Linked DNA regions of Homo sapiens: regions 1, 2 and 4 are each linked to region 3. Evidence: promoter capture Hi-C in human tissues and cell types (Jung and others, 2019). All regions are on one chromosome and are shown on one strand. The core of a region is centred on a gene start or on the middle of the fragment in contact, and the rest is flanking DNA. Distances in the headings are between cores, read along the strand shown. Region 1 holds the start of TBX6 (T-box transcription factor 6). Region 2 holds the start of SEZ6L2 (seizure related 6 homolog like 2). Region 3 holds the start of ATXN2L (ataxin 2 like). Region 4 overlaps MVP (major vault protein).

What was found. Contacts are between HindIII fragments. The study calls those that stand out against the background at their distance.
Region 1: a contact is called between the fragment with the promoter of TBX6 here and the fragment with the promoter of ATXN2L in region 3, in 1 of the 25 tissues and cell types used here (spleen).
Region 2: a contact is called between the fragment with the promoter of SEZ6L2 here and the fragment with the promoter of ATXN2L in region 3, in 1 of the 25 tissues and cell types used here (dorsolateral prefrontal cortex).
Region 4: a fragment that was not itself captured here is called in contact with the fragment with the promoter of ATXN2L in region 3 in 1 of the 25 tissues and cell types used here (dorsolateral prefrontal cortex).

Annotation. Positions count from the first base shown.
Region 1 is chr16:30,090,361-30,093,377 of GRCh38, forward strand. It overlaps TBX6 (T-box transcription factor 6), which reads right to left and starts at 1,564. Exons shown (of 9, transcript NM_004608.4): 1 at 1,513-1,564; 2 at 716-881; 3 at 398-632. The coding sequence starts at 833. It overlaps YPEL3 (yippee like 3), which reads right to left. Exons shown (of 4, transcript NM_031477.5): 4 at 1,954-2,439. The coding sequence ends at 2,350. RefSeq lists enhancers at 28-901, 2,034-2,223 and a silencer at 1,554-1,813. The HindIII fragment of the contact is 30,865 bases long and covers 1-3,017 here.
Region 2 is chr16:29,898,245-29,901,362 of GRCh38, forward strand. It overlaps SEZ6L2 (seizure related 6 homolog like 2), which reads right to left and starts at 1,306. Exons shown (of 18, transcript NM_001243332.2): 1 at 697-1,306. The coding sequence starts at 775. It overlaps ASPHD1 (aspartate beta-hydroxylase domain containing 1), which reads left to right and starts at 2,244. Exons shown (of 3, transcript NM_181718.4): 1 at 2,244-3,118. The coding sequence starts at 2,728. RefSeq lists an enhancer at 1,204-1,498 and a silencer at 1,862-2,291. The HindIII fragment of the contact is 10,220 bases long and covers 1-3,118 here.
Region 3 is chr16:28,821,324-28,824,826 of GRCh38, forward strand. ATXN2L (ataxin 2 like) reads left to right here and starts at 1,676. Exons shown (of 22, transcript NM_007245.4): 1 at 1,676-2,235. The coding sequence starts at 1,937. It overlaps LOC124903672 (a long non-coding RNA gene), which reads right to left and starts at 2,719. Exons shown (of 2, transcript XR_007065042.1): 1 at 2,571-2,719. RefSeq lists enhancers at 955-1,691, 1,203-1,412 and a silencer at 1,733-2,882. The HindIII fragment of the contact is 10,837 bases long and covers 1-3,503 here.
Region 4 is chr16:29,822,899-29,826,134 of GRCh38, forward strand. The region is part of intron 1 of MVP (major vault protein); the gene reads left to right. Among named protein-coding and RNA genes, the nearest start is that of MVP, 4.1 kb to the left of the region's middle. RefSeq lists enhancers at 2,230-2,309, 2,370-2,499, 2,686-3,236. The HindIII fragment of the contact is 4,985 bases long and covers 1-3,236 here.

The sequences.
Region 1 (3,017 bases), core at 314-2,813, 1.3 Mb after region 3:
AGTTGCATACTGATCCCGAATCCTGGCCAGATTTCCCTGATGCTGGTCAATGGGCTGGCCCTTGACCCCCTGTCCTTGTCTGGATGCTGGTCTAAGCCACACACTAACCTATAACCCAGAGGGACTTCCTGACCCTGCCCCAGACTGACCCATGACCCTTGCCATAGATTGGTCCCTAAACTCAGCCACAGACTCCACAGACTGGCCCTTAACCCTTGTCACAGAGTGACTCCTGATTCCTGCCACAGAGTAACCCTTGCCCCAGGCCATAGTCAGATTCTAGGCCTAGGCAGAGCTCTAGCCCCTCGGGAACCACCCAGTCCTAGCCCCCTCCCCAGGGACTCTGCCTTTCCCAAGAGACCCCCACCAGAAACACGGACCCTGGCCAGCCCCTCACCTCCCAGCTTTGGTGATGATCATTTCTGTTCCCACAGAGCTGAACTCCTTCCATAGCTCCCGGTTCTCCAGGCTCAGGCTGACCCCCGGGAGGGAATGGAGGGCCTCTGGAGCTGATGGGGCCGGCTCAGTGCCCATGGCAGGGGGCAGAAGGGGCAGAGGTGGGTGCGCGGCCAGGGTGCGGGGAGCAGCCTCCATCCCGGAGAGGAAGCAATCCAGTTTAGGGGTGTCCAGTTCTGGAAGCCGGGGAAGAATGAGGAGCCAGCCGAGGGCCACAGCCCCCCTATTCTCCTACCCAGGAGCTGGTCCCAACGCTCACCGGGGTAGCGGTAGCCCTCCGCTAGGGCGGGTGGGAAGCTGGAGTCGGCCCCAGGTTGGGCGGGCCCCAGGCGGTAGCCGGCCCCCAGGGACGGGTACAATTCTCGTGGATGGTACATGTTGTAGTTCCGTCTGGCCTCAGGTCTCGCTGCTTAGGGCCCCCGGTGCTGCGAGATGCCCCCTTTATAGCTCACAGCTCAGCCCCTTCCAGATCCAGGATCACAGCCCCTCCCCTCTTTGGGGCCCTGGAGTTGGGCTGGGGTGGAGACCCCTGGGGCCTCGAAGGGGTCCGAGAGGGGGTCGGATACCTGGGTACGGTCCCCTCCTCCCCTCCCTCCCCACCCCGGGAGGCTTCATTAGCCTCGACCCCCTGCCCCCTCATTACATAATTAACTCCTCGGCTTGATTGATCCCCAGGGCTCGGACAGGGACGCAGTTTGGCGCTTCCGGCCAGCTGGTCCCCGTTCCCACGGTGGGGAGCCCCGGCTAGGGATAAGCTGGGGGGCGGGGCCTGGAACCTGGACGGAGCCAAGAGTCCCGGGACACACCTTGGCGCCCCAGACCTTCTGGCAGGTGACCGCCCTCCGCCCCCCTTCACTTGGAGGCCGGGCCCTGGAGGGAAGCAGCGTGAACAGAGGGAAAGTGCAGGCTAGAGGGACGCGGCCTGAGCTGATTTCACAGGGCACTCGGGGCCGCGAGGAGGCCGCAGCCCAGTCCCGAGCACCGTAGTCCTCCCTGGTCCCCATGCTAAAAAAACCTCCATCCCGAGCCAAGCCTCCAAAGTTCGAAGGCGCTCACAGTCCGACAGCTTCTGACGCCTCGCGCCAGGGTTTCCCGAAGGTCCCGCGCTGGGGAACCCTCGGAACTACACTTCCCGGCAGGCTCAGCGCTGAGGCGCGCCCGAAGGAGCCGGACGGACCACGCGGGGGCCGCTGGGAGTTGCAGTCCGACCGCGAGGGGGCTGCGAGGCCGGCGGCGCGGTTGCCTCCCTGGGACGCTGCCCCTAGGCGGCGGCCAAACGCTGCAGATGAGCAGACGCAGATCAGCCGAGGTCACGGCGTAGGCAGCCAGAGTGGGCTCAGGACCTCCGCCAGCAGTGAAACCGTCCCGGTTCCCGGAGACCCAGCTTGGACGGCTGTGCCTACCCCATGCCCCGCCGGGGCTCAGAACCGCACAGGTCTATAGGGGCGGAAATCTCCGCTTGAGCTCCCCCTTCCCGGATTACACGCGAGCCTGAGCTGTCTCCACTCCATTGTTTTATTATGTACAAACGCTACAGAACGAGGGGGACAGACACGCGTGGGGTAAGAAGGGCCTGGTGGGAGGAGTTCACAGAGCAGACGGTGCACTGGGACCAGGAGAGCAGAACACAGGCCATAACTATAGGGCAGGTGGGGCAGGAACGGGTTAAAAACGAGATCCAAGCCAGCCAGATCGCAGGAGGTGCGGGGGCGTCGTCCCCCTTCTGTTCTCCCCCCAAGGTCACAGTGCATGCAATAAAATATATATACAGGAGCTAGATCCGTCCTCTGCAGGGGCTCTGAGGGTCCAGAGCTCCCTTCGGGTGGCGGGAAGCCAGTGGCGCTCCCTGGCGGCCAGGCCGGGCTGGAGCCACATGCGTCGGGGGAGCGGGGGTCAGTCCCAGCCGTTGTCTTTGATCATGTGGTTGAGTTCAATGATGTACTTCCCCTCTTTGTACTTCTGGCTGCTCTCAAAGGCCTGTTCCTGAAAGGAGGGGCGGGACCGTCATCCCCGGAGCAACAGTCTCACCACAAGGCACTGGGGTTGGGAAGTGGACATGAGTGGCCCCATTTTACATATGAGGAAACTGTGGCCCAGAGGGGCAGGGCCGTATTTCTCACAAACACAGAGTAGAATAGAACTCCCTGACTCAAAGGTACTTTTTTAAGTACTAATGATGGCTCCAACAGAGAAGATAGGGAAGTGGCTAAAAGATTTCACAGTTCAGGGTTTGCAAACTGGTAGCTTCATGGCCATTTTGGCCTACAACATGTATTATGTTTGGACAGCAGACAGTTTAATAAAAATAACTTTAAAGTATTAAAATATAAGTAGGCCTTGCTCACTCCAGTTTGCCCAGCCTGCCCCCAACTCCCAACCCTGCCAATCTATGCTACCCTTTACACATCTACAGTATCTGCTTGGCCTTGCAGGCACTTGAGGTTTTTTTGTTTGTTTGGTTTTGAGAGGGAGTCTTGCTCTGTCGCCCAGGCTGGAAGTGCAACGGCGCGATATCGGCTCACTGCAACCTCCGCTTCCCGGGTTCAAGTGATTCTGCTGCC
Region 2 (3,118 bases), core at 56-2,555, 1.1 Mb after region 3:
GACCCTGGACAGCGCCAGCAAGGCAGAGGGGTCGCCGGTGCTGCCTTCCCTTTCACCTCAGTGGTGATCTCCCCCCAACCCTGGGGCTCTGCAGAGGATCTGGCCGCACCTCCCAGCCCTTGCTTCCGCAGTGCCTGGCTTTCTCTCTGGGTTTCTGTCTCTGCAGTGTGGCTGTCTTTTCTCTCTCTCTCTCTCTCTCTCTCCCCCCCACCCTCTCTCTCTCTGGTCCTCTGCAGTCTCTGCCTCCTTCCCTGGAGTCTGGCTGGGGGTCAGAGTGGGGGACTGAAAATCTGGTCTTTGAGCCCTGCCTCTGCTCATCTGTCTTTGTCCATTCATCCAAGAACAGTTGTGTGTACAGCGCCTGGCATCTCTCTCAGCACCTCCATCTCCCACCCAGGTCCCTCCATGCTTCTGCCGCCTCCGCAGACATCCCCCCAACTTTCCCAGCCCTCCTTCTTGGATCTAGCCCCTGAGACACTGCTAAAAGCTTCTCTCATTCATTTCTCTGCCTTCTCAATATTGAGGGTTAAGGGGCTTCGGGTTCAAGCCTGAAAGCTCTGGCTTGCCCCTTCCCCATCAGCTGTGCCTCTCCCCTCCCCCATGTGCTCGGAAGACCCAGGATATTAAGAGAAAGGAGGGTGGAGGACCCCGCTGGACGCCTTCCTGGGGCCCACCCCCACAGTCTCATGTCCTTACCCTGGATCCAGGGACAGCTCAGCAGAATTAGGAACAGCAGCTGGGGAGGCGGCGGGTGCTGGGCCCTGGGAGTCCCCATGGCGACTCACCCCGATCTCTCTCCTCTGTGCCTCTCTAAGTAATCTGGCTGCCACCTTTCCTCCGTCTCCGTTTATCTTTCCCTTTAATTGTTTTTTTTTTTTTTTTTTTTTTCCTCGTAGGAGTCAGCAAAGAAAGACAATTTCTCTGCCCCTTGGGATGGAGGGGCAGAATTGGGCTAGGGGTCGCCTGGAGCCCACCCCCCTTTGCTCAGTCTCCTCTGTCCTCTTCTCGCGGCTCTGTGGTGGAGGGGGCGCGGCTCCGGCTGCAGGGGGTGGGGCCGAGAGGGCCGAAGGGGCCGGGTGGCCTGGGTTACCCTCCTGCTCAGGCGCCTGGGTCCACTGGGCTGTCTGGACCCCAAGCTAGGGGACTGGGGAGGAGAAAGACAGCTTCTGGGGGTTTAGGGTGGGGTCGAGGATCGAGGGGGTCTCCACTGGGCTCTAGCGGGGCTTGTCGGGGAGGGGAAGGGGTGGGTTGGGGAACTGGGAGAGCCGAAGCTCGGGCACTGGAGCTGCGGGAGGGAGAAGCTGAGAAAGGTATCGAGCCCACGTCAGATCCTGGGGACGGGCGGAGGGAGGGGCCTGGGATTTATTTGACGGGGAGGGAGGAGGAGGAAGTGCAGATGGAGGAGGGAGGGATCATACGAGCCAGGGCCGTAATCCTCACTCCCGCGGCCCCTAGGGGAGGCAAAGGAAACTCTCTGGTCCCAGCAGTAATTAGCCCCCTCCGCCTGCCATTCCAGCACATCTGGAATCTGAATCTCCTCTTCCCAGGGTGCCGAGGGGCTGCATAGCTTGGTTCGCGCCTGCTAGGCCCCCAATTATGCCCCCTGTTCACATTCAGACCTCCCAAGGGGCTTCCCTTCCCCTTTTACAGTAGCTCGGGTGGAATGGGCTCTCCCTCCTCCAGGGGAATAGAGAGCTTCCACGATTGTGACAAGTCTCGTGGGTGACGGGCCGGGGTTTGGGGAGGAGAGACAGACCCCTCCTCTTCCATAAACCCTGACCCCGGCCAGCTAACAGGCGGCCTCGGCTCTGATTTTCCCTCCGGAGCGCCCTTTTCAGCACCAGCGGCGCGCGGACAGCTCCCCTCGCCCCGCCGGGGCGGGCCCGGCCCGACGCCGCCCGCGATTGGCTGAGGCCGCTTTCGGTGTTTGCCAGGCTCGCGGGCTCCCGGGCTGCCTAGGGCCAGCGGGAGTCACAGGCCGACCGACCGACGGACCAGCCGCCCGACGGACTGGCCTCAGCATCCTTGCCCGCAGTCCCGGGCGCCTGCCCAGCCGTCAGTCCGCGCTCGCCCCGCCCCTCAGGCCCCGCCCCTCAGGCCCCGCCCGATACGACCCGCCCCTTCTTTCGCATTGCGGGACGGCTGGAGGCTGGCACCGTGGCCCCTGCGCCCCACGTGGCGCCCTTTCCGGGCGGGGGGGGTGGGGAGGCACCTCCAGCGACAACTCTCCCCCCTCCCCCGGCACCCGGCTGATTTGCTGTGCCACTGGGAGGGTTCGGGGGTGGCTGAGCTGAGAGGGCTCCGGGAAGGAGTGACGTCAGGGTGAGTGGGAGCCCAGGAAGGAGCGAGTAGGAGAGAGGGAGCGAGAGCCAGGCAGGACCGCAGGGTCGGGGCTAGTGAGGAGCGAGGGCAAGGAGAGAGCAGTGAGGCCGGAGAGAAAGAAGCTGCCGCGGAGGAAGACAGGCTGCGGGTTCCCGGGACTGCAGGTCCAGGCAGGGTAGGAACCGCTGCCCAGGGGAGCTAGGAGGAAGCGGGGAGAGAGAGCGAGCGAAAAGCGGGGGTGGGGAGGAAAGGGGGAGATTGAGGTGGGAGAGAGAAGCAGAGCGAGAGAGAGGAGGCTGCTGGAAGGAGAAAGAAGAGGGTGAGGAGGCGACAGAGGGAGAGGAGGAAGAAGAGGTAGAAGGAGAGAGAAAGGGGAGAGAAAGGAGAGAGGAGGGTTGGAGGTGCATGAAGGAGGGGAGAGGGAGCTTCAGCGTGGAGAGAGGACCGCGGAAGGAGAGAGAGACAGCCCAGAGTGGAATGTGGAAGGGAAACAGTCCAGCGGGGAGCCAGGGGGCAGCCATGGAAGGGACAGGTGGGGAGCTGGGGGGACAGGGGAACTGGGGTCCGGAGGACGCCCCAGGCCTCTTGGCCAGGGCCTCCCTGATCATGCTCCCGTGGCCACTACCCCTGGCCTCCTCGGCCCTCACCTTGCTCTTCGGGGCCCTCACTTCCCTGTTCCTCTGGTACTGCTACCGCCTGGGCTCCCAAGACATGCAGGCCCTAGGGGCTGGGAGCCGAGCTGGGGGTGTTCGTGGTGGGCCTGTGGGATGCTCGGAGGCCGGCGGGCCAAGCCCAG
Region 3 (3,503 bases), core at 426-2,925:
CCACATGGACTTAACAGCTCCACTCCATTCTCCACGTTGCAAAGAGTAAACCTTTAAAAATGCAAATCTGACCTCTTTTCACTTGTTTTTTTGTTTGTTTTGGGGGGAAGGAGTCTTGCTCTGTCACCCAGGCTGGAGTGCAGTGGTGCGATCTGGGCTCACGGCAACCTCCGCCTCCTTGGTTCAAGTGATTCTCCTGCCTCAGCCTCCTGAGTAGCTGGGATTACAGGCATGCACCACCACGCCTAGCTAATTTTTGCATTTTTAGTAGAGACAGGGTTTCACCATGTTGGCCAGGCTGATCTCAAACTCCTGACCTCAAACCTCCCAAAGTACTGGGATTACAGACCATGCCCAGCCTCTTTTCACTTTCTTAAATAAGCTCCCCACTGCTTTGAGGATAATGTCCGTGTCTCTTACAAGACTTGGGAGCCTTTAAAACCTGATCCCAGATTAGCTACCTCTTCCCCCCTTTAATTTTATGCTTAGGACAAGCTGAGTTTTTCTTAGTTTGTCATATCCTATTTCCCTGCCTAGAAACCCATCTCCCCCTGCCCTCTTATCAGTTTTTTTTTATAATTTAAATTTTTTTTTTTTTGTAGAGACAAAGTCTCACTTTGTTGCCTAGGCTGGTCTCAAACTCCTGGCCTTAAACGATCCTTCTGCCTCGGACTCCCAAAATGTTAGGATTACAGGTATGAGCCACTGCGCCCGGCCCTCCTGTCCCTTATCTGGGTCTCCCAAAACTGGATTAAGATTAGGTGTCACTCCCATTTGCTCTTGTAGTCCTCTGTGCTTCACCTACTAGATCTCGTCAAATTCTCTGAATTCACCACTAGCATGAACTCCTCCAGAGCAGGAAGCAGTTTAATTATCCTTGTGTCCAAAACAACTAACTGAATACTCCAATGCCCAACTCATTTTGAATGAATGAAGCTGCCTTCATTGCAGGGTCGGGTGGAGGATTTTGAACTCGGAACTTTGGCCTTCAGTCTTTGTTATTACAGTTTAAAGATTCATTCTCGGGCATGGAGGAACAATTTAGGTCAAAATCACAAAAATCTGAAATAATTTAGGACGAGGCGTAAATTTATCTGCAAAGATCAACACGCTCAAACGAATCACTAATGCTCATCAGTCTTTTACTTAAAGCAAACAAGGTGGAGGGTAGCTCCTTGCGAAACCTACCACCTGCCTAAAAGCGCAGTGGCTCGGGTGGTCCAGTCCCGGAGACTTTCTTGGCACTTAAGGCTCTGCCCACGGGCCGCCAAGTGGCGGAAGAGCCTCACGCACGACGTGCCGCCTCACACTCCCGCGGAGGCATCGCGACGCAGCGACGGCGTGGGCGGAGAGGCCGGCCCTTCCTCTGGCGCCTTCGGCTCCTCCCCCTGCGCCTCACACGCTCATTGTGAAGCGACAGCGGCCGCCGGCTTCTAAGGCGGTTTGAGACCTTAAGACCCTAAATCCTTGGCGCGCGTGAGCGCCCGCGCCGCTCCTTACCCACTCCCAGGGCTAGGGGTGCGAGGTTCACCGACTTGATTCTCTCCCACTTTCCCGCCGGGAGCTAACCGCGCCGGTGTGCGCGGCACCTCGCGCCACTGCTCGCTCCTGGCCCCCCCCCCCCCCCCCCCCCCCCGGGAGCTCCCACCCGCGCGCTCCTCCCTCTCCGCTCCCCGGCGACGCGCACGCGCGCCAGCCCGGCTCGCGCCCTCTCGCTTTCCTCCAGCCGCGAGACCCCCTCCCCTTCCGCCTCGCGGCGCTTCCTCGCGCCGCGGTCTTCTCTCTCCACCCCCGACACCGCGGGGCTCCCCCCGCCCGCCCACGGCGGGCCCCGGCTGCCCGATCCCCCTCGCTTCCCGCGCTCTCCAGCGGGGCCCCAGCCCCGGCCCCCTCTCTCCCTCCCTTCTCTCTAATTCCCCTTCCGGACGCTGCCATCATGTTGAAGCCTCAGCCGCTACAACAGCCCTCCCAGCCCCAGCAGCCGCCCCCCACGCAACAGGCCGTGGCCCGTCGGCCCCCCGGGGGCACCAGCCCTCCCAACGGCGGCCTCCCGGGGCCGCTGGCCACCTCTGCGGCTCCTCCCGGGCCTCCAGCGGCCGCCTCCCCCTGCCTGGGGCCTGTGGCCGCTGCCGGGAGCGGGCTCCGCCGGGGAGCCGAAGGCATCTTGGCGCCGCAGCCGCCGCCGCCGCAGCAACACCAGGAGAGGCCGGGGGCAGCCGCCATCGGCAGCGCCAGGTGAGAAGGGTGGGCTCCGGGCGAGGGAGCCGCGGCCACCCAGAGGCTGTGGCTCGGTTCCGGTGGGGCGGACCCCGACCCGGCACCGTCAGGGGCACCGGCTGGGTGGGGAGTCCCCGTGAAGCTGGGGGAGGGCCCCCTCAGGTCCGAACAGGTCGGACGGAAAGGGTCCCCGGGCGGCCACCGGAGCACTGAGGGGCCGCGCTCGGCTCTCGGGGCCTAGTCAGGGCTCGCAGCCCCGGCCTTCAGGGGAGGCGGGGCGCATCCCGCCGGCGCCGTCGGAACGGGGAGTTGGGGGGGGGCAAGGAGCTGATCGGGGTCCCCGGTTCCATTACCACGAAGGGTCTCGCGGTCCCCGGCTTCAGCCAATGGGGAGTCTGCTGCGGGAAGGGGTCCCCGGCCGTAGCCAATGGAGGGGGGCGCGCGGCCCACAGTTTGGCCAATGGGGAGGGAGGGACTTGGGAGCGGGTTGCTGCCTCCCCCTTCCCGGTCTGGCCAGTAGGAGGGGAGCGAGGTGGGCGGGGGGACGGAAGGAGGGATGACTGGGAGGACTGCGGGCCGGGAGCCTCTGGCGCGCGCGCCCCCTTCCCGTACGTGCGCGTGGATGCTCGGTCTCATGACCCGGGCATTCGCGCGCCCCGGGAACACCTAGGGCAGGGACTAGTTCGTGGAGGGGCTCGTCTGGTGGCAGTGCATGAGTAGTGGAGGCCCTGCTCAGTTTTTCCTGTGCGAGTGTGTGTGTGTTAATGGAATTAAGAGTGGCAGCACACGCAGGCGCAGTGGGCTCTGATCGCTGGAGGTGGGGGTTCGGAAAGTCCCGTGGGTTTTAGTGCGCAGGCGCAGACCGGGCGAGGCCTCCCGGTGGATGGCTTTTGCGGCTGCGCTGTCCCCCAGCCCCGCCAGCGGCCCCCTCTTCGCCCTCAACCGCCGGTTACATCAGCCAGCGACGAGCAGGGTTACCTGGCGATTGGTGATCCCCGCAGAGTGGGTAACGGGCTGAATGAGTCATGAGGTCGAGGGGATGGGGTGTGGAGGGGATACCCCTCCTCCCACAGTTTTGAGGCGTCAGGCTGCTGAAAATGATTGTCTTTTCTGTTTGGGAGGTAATGTACCTGAGCTAGGTAGTTCCAAAGCTGCACTCCTGGAGCTTTTGCCCTCACAGCTGGCGTGGCTTTTTGGTTAATACTGTAGCATTGATCTGTTGGTAGCCTGCAGCCCTAGCCCCTTTCTCGTTGGTTCTTAGAGCAATTGACAACCATTGTTGATTG
Region 4 (3,236 bases), core at 737-3,236, 1.0 Mb after region 3:
GTAGAGACGAAGTTTCACCATGTTGGCCAGGCTGGTCTCGAACTCCTGAGCTCAGGCAATCCGCCTGCCTTGGCCTCCCAAAGTGCTGGGATTACAGCCACTGCGCCCGGCCTGAAACTGATCTTTATCCTCCTCCCAGTTCCTACTGTGCACCAGAGACCCTCCAGTCTCTAATACCTTTGACTTGAAGAGCAGTCATTTTTTTTTCCTTTTCTTTTCTTTTCTTTTTTTTTTTTTTTTTTTTGAGATGGCCTCACTCTTGCCCAGGCTAGAGCGCACTCGTGTGCTCCATTTACGGCTCACTGCAGCCTTGACCTCCCAGGCACAGGCGATCCTCCCACCTCAGCCTCCAAAGTAGCAGGGACCACAGGTGTGCACCACCACACCTAGCTAATATTTTTTATGGTTTTTATAGAGACAGGGTCTCCCTATGTTGCCCAGGCTGGTCTTGAACTCCTGGCCTCAAGTGATCCTCCCATCTTGGTCTCCCAAAGTGCTGGGATTACAGGTGGGAGCCACCAAGCCTAGTCAACAGTCACTTTTATTCTCACTTCACTGGAGAGGAAGGCTCAGAGGCTAGTAAGTGGCCCAGGAGCATGCTGGCAGTGATAAAACCTGCTGGAGTGACATTTTCCCACTGGCTCTCAATCCTGGATATATATTAAGAGTCAGAGGCCAGGCGCGGTGGCTCACGCCTGTAATCCCAGCACTTTGGGAGGCCAAGGCAGGCGGATCACGAGGTTAGGAGATCAAGACCATCCTGGCTAACACAGTGAAACCCCATCTCTACTAAAAATACAAAAAAAATTAGCTAGGCGTGGTGGTGGGTGCCTGTAATCCCAGCTGAGGCAGGAGAATGGCATGAACCCGGGAGGCGGAGCTGCAGTGATCCGAGATCGTGCCACTGCACTCCAGCCTGGGTGACAGAGCGAGACTCGTCTCAGAAAAAAAAAAAAAAAATGAGGGAGAACTTTTTACAATAGCAACGGGTGAACCTCACCCAGACCAATTAAATAGAATCACCGGAGATGGGTGGCTTTAAAAAAAGGTCTCCAGAAGGCCTGGCGCGGCAGATCACACCTGTTATCCTAGCCCTTTGGGAGGCCGAGGTGGGTGGATCACTTCCAGCCTGACCAACATGGCGAAACCCTGTCCACTAAAAACAAAATTATCTGGGTGTGGTGGCGGACATCTGTAATCCCAGCTACTTGGGAGGCTGAAGCAGGAGAATTGCTTGAACTCGGGAGGCAGAGGTTGCAGTGAGCCGAGATGGCTACACTCCAGTCTGGGCAACAAGCACGAAACTCCATCTCAAAAAAAAAAAAAAAAAAAAAAAAAAAAAACAGATTTCCAGATGACCAGTGTGCAGCCCGAGCCGAGAGTCTGCTTTAGACCAGAGCTGCTCAGACTGTAATGTGCATGCAAGTCATTGAGGGTCGAGTTAAAATGCCAGTAGATTCAGTGGCTCTGGGGTGGGGCCCCAGGCTGTGTTGCTATCAAGCCTCCAGGTGGTACCACTCTACTCACTGCAGACCCCGTAGGCAGTGTGGTCACTTGGTCAATTGCCATTTAAGACTCACTAGGGGCCAGGTGTGGTGGTTCACGCCTGTAATCCTAGCACTTTGGGAGGCTGAGGCAGGCAGATTGCCTGAGCTCAGGAGTTTGAGACCACCCTGGGGTGAAACCCCATCTCTACTAAAATACAAAAAATTAGCCAGGCTTGGTGGCATGTGCCTGTAATTCCAGCTACTCGGGAGGCTGAGGCACGAGAATTGCTTGAACCTGGGAGGTAGGTGGACGTTGCAGTGAGCCGAGATTGTGCCACTTCACTCCAGCCTGGGCTACAGTCTCCAAAAAAAACAAAAAAGAGATTCAGTATATCAGCTACTCACAGTTGACCCTGAAGATCTCTGGGAAGTAGTGACTCATGACTCGTTTATTTATTAAGTTTTGCTGTAGCAGAAGTTTACTTTTGAGCCAAGAGTCTGATCCGGTCTCCCTCTTTTTTTTTTTTTTCTTTCTTTAAAGAGATGGGGCCTTGCTATGTTGCCCAAGCTGGTCTTGAACTCCTGGCCTCAATCCATCCTCCCACCTTCGGCCTCCCAAAGTGTTGGGATTACAGGTGTGAGCCACCTCTCTCAGGCAAGAGCCCCTCTTTTAACTAGACAATGAACCTGGTTTCTGCTTTGGACAGGCTATTTAGTTCCTGCTTATTTACCCTCATGGTGGGAGAGACCCTGGTGGGATTTGGGGTGAAAGCTGGCTGTGGTTCTTGCAGGAGCCTCATGACACCTGAGGGAGGTGTGATCAGGCAAGACTGGGCCTCTACACTGAGAGCCGACTAGGGCAGGTCTCAGAAGCAGAGACTGAAGGAAGTTGGGTGGATGAGTGGATCTGGGGAGCAGGGGCCAAGCCTGAGGGCTGGGCAGAGCCTTCCAAAGGTCAACACAATCCTTGCTATTGTCTTTTGAGGGCCCTGATCTATTTTAAGTAAAATGCTCTAACTGCGCATGTCATCTGGAAGGAAACCACAAAAAACTCAATCTGAGACTTGTCACCAATGTGCTGCCTGAGTCAAAGGGTTTCCCTGGCTCACCTCCATAGATGGCGAGGGTAGAAGGCAAGACCTGTCCTGGGTGGTCTAGGCAGAAGGCCCAGGTTTAGGGCATGGCAGGTGGGTGGTCAGGGAGGTGAGGTGGGGTCCTGGTGCTGATGCAGGGGCAGTTGCCGAGGGCTTGGCCTCAGAACAAGGCAGGAGTCCAGCCATGAGGATGACTCTTGCTGAGTCACTGAGCTGGGCGAGGCATTCAGACCCCCTGACTGGGCCCAGCTGGGGCGGCAGATGGTGGAGAGGCCTCAGCTGTGGGGGGTGTTGGGGAGATTATCCACTGATGAACCAAATGGAGGCTGTTCCCAGAGCCTGCTTCCAACCTTGCACGGCCTTCTAGAGTTCAAATCTTTCCTGGGGGGGCCTCAGAGCCCTGTCCATACCTCCGCTCACAGCCCCAGCCCTTCCTCTTCTCCCATCTGGTTTCCTGGCCAGGTTTCGGCCCTGCGGAGAACCCTCCAAGGGAGCAGTGGAAAAAGCTTCACTTGGCAGTAAAGCCCCTACTTGCTGTTCCATCCCTGCAGCTGGGGTGAAATAAGCCACTGACCAGTAAACAACTGAGGCTTAAACCAGCATGCCAGCTCAGGTGGGGAGCCCCCAGCACTGGTTATATTCCCTAGATTCCTCA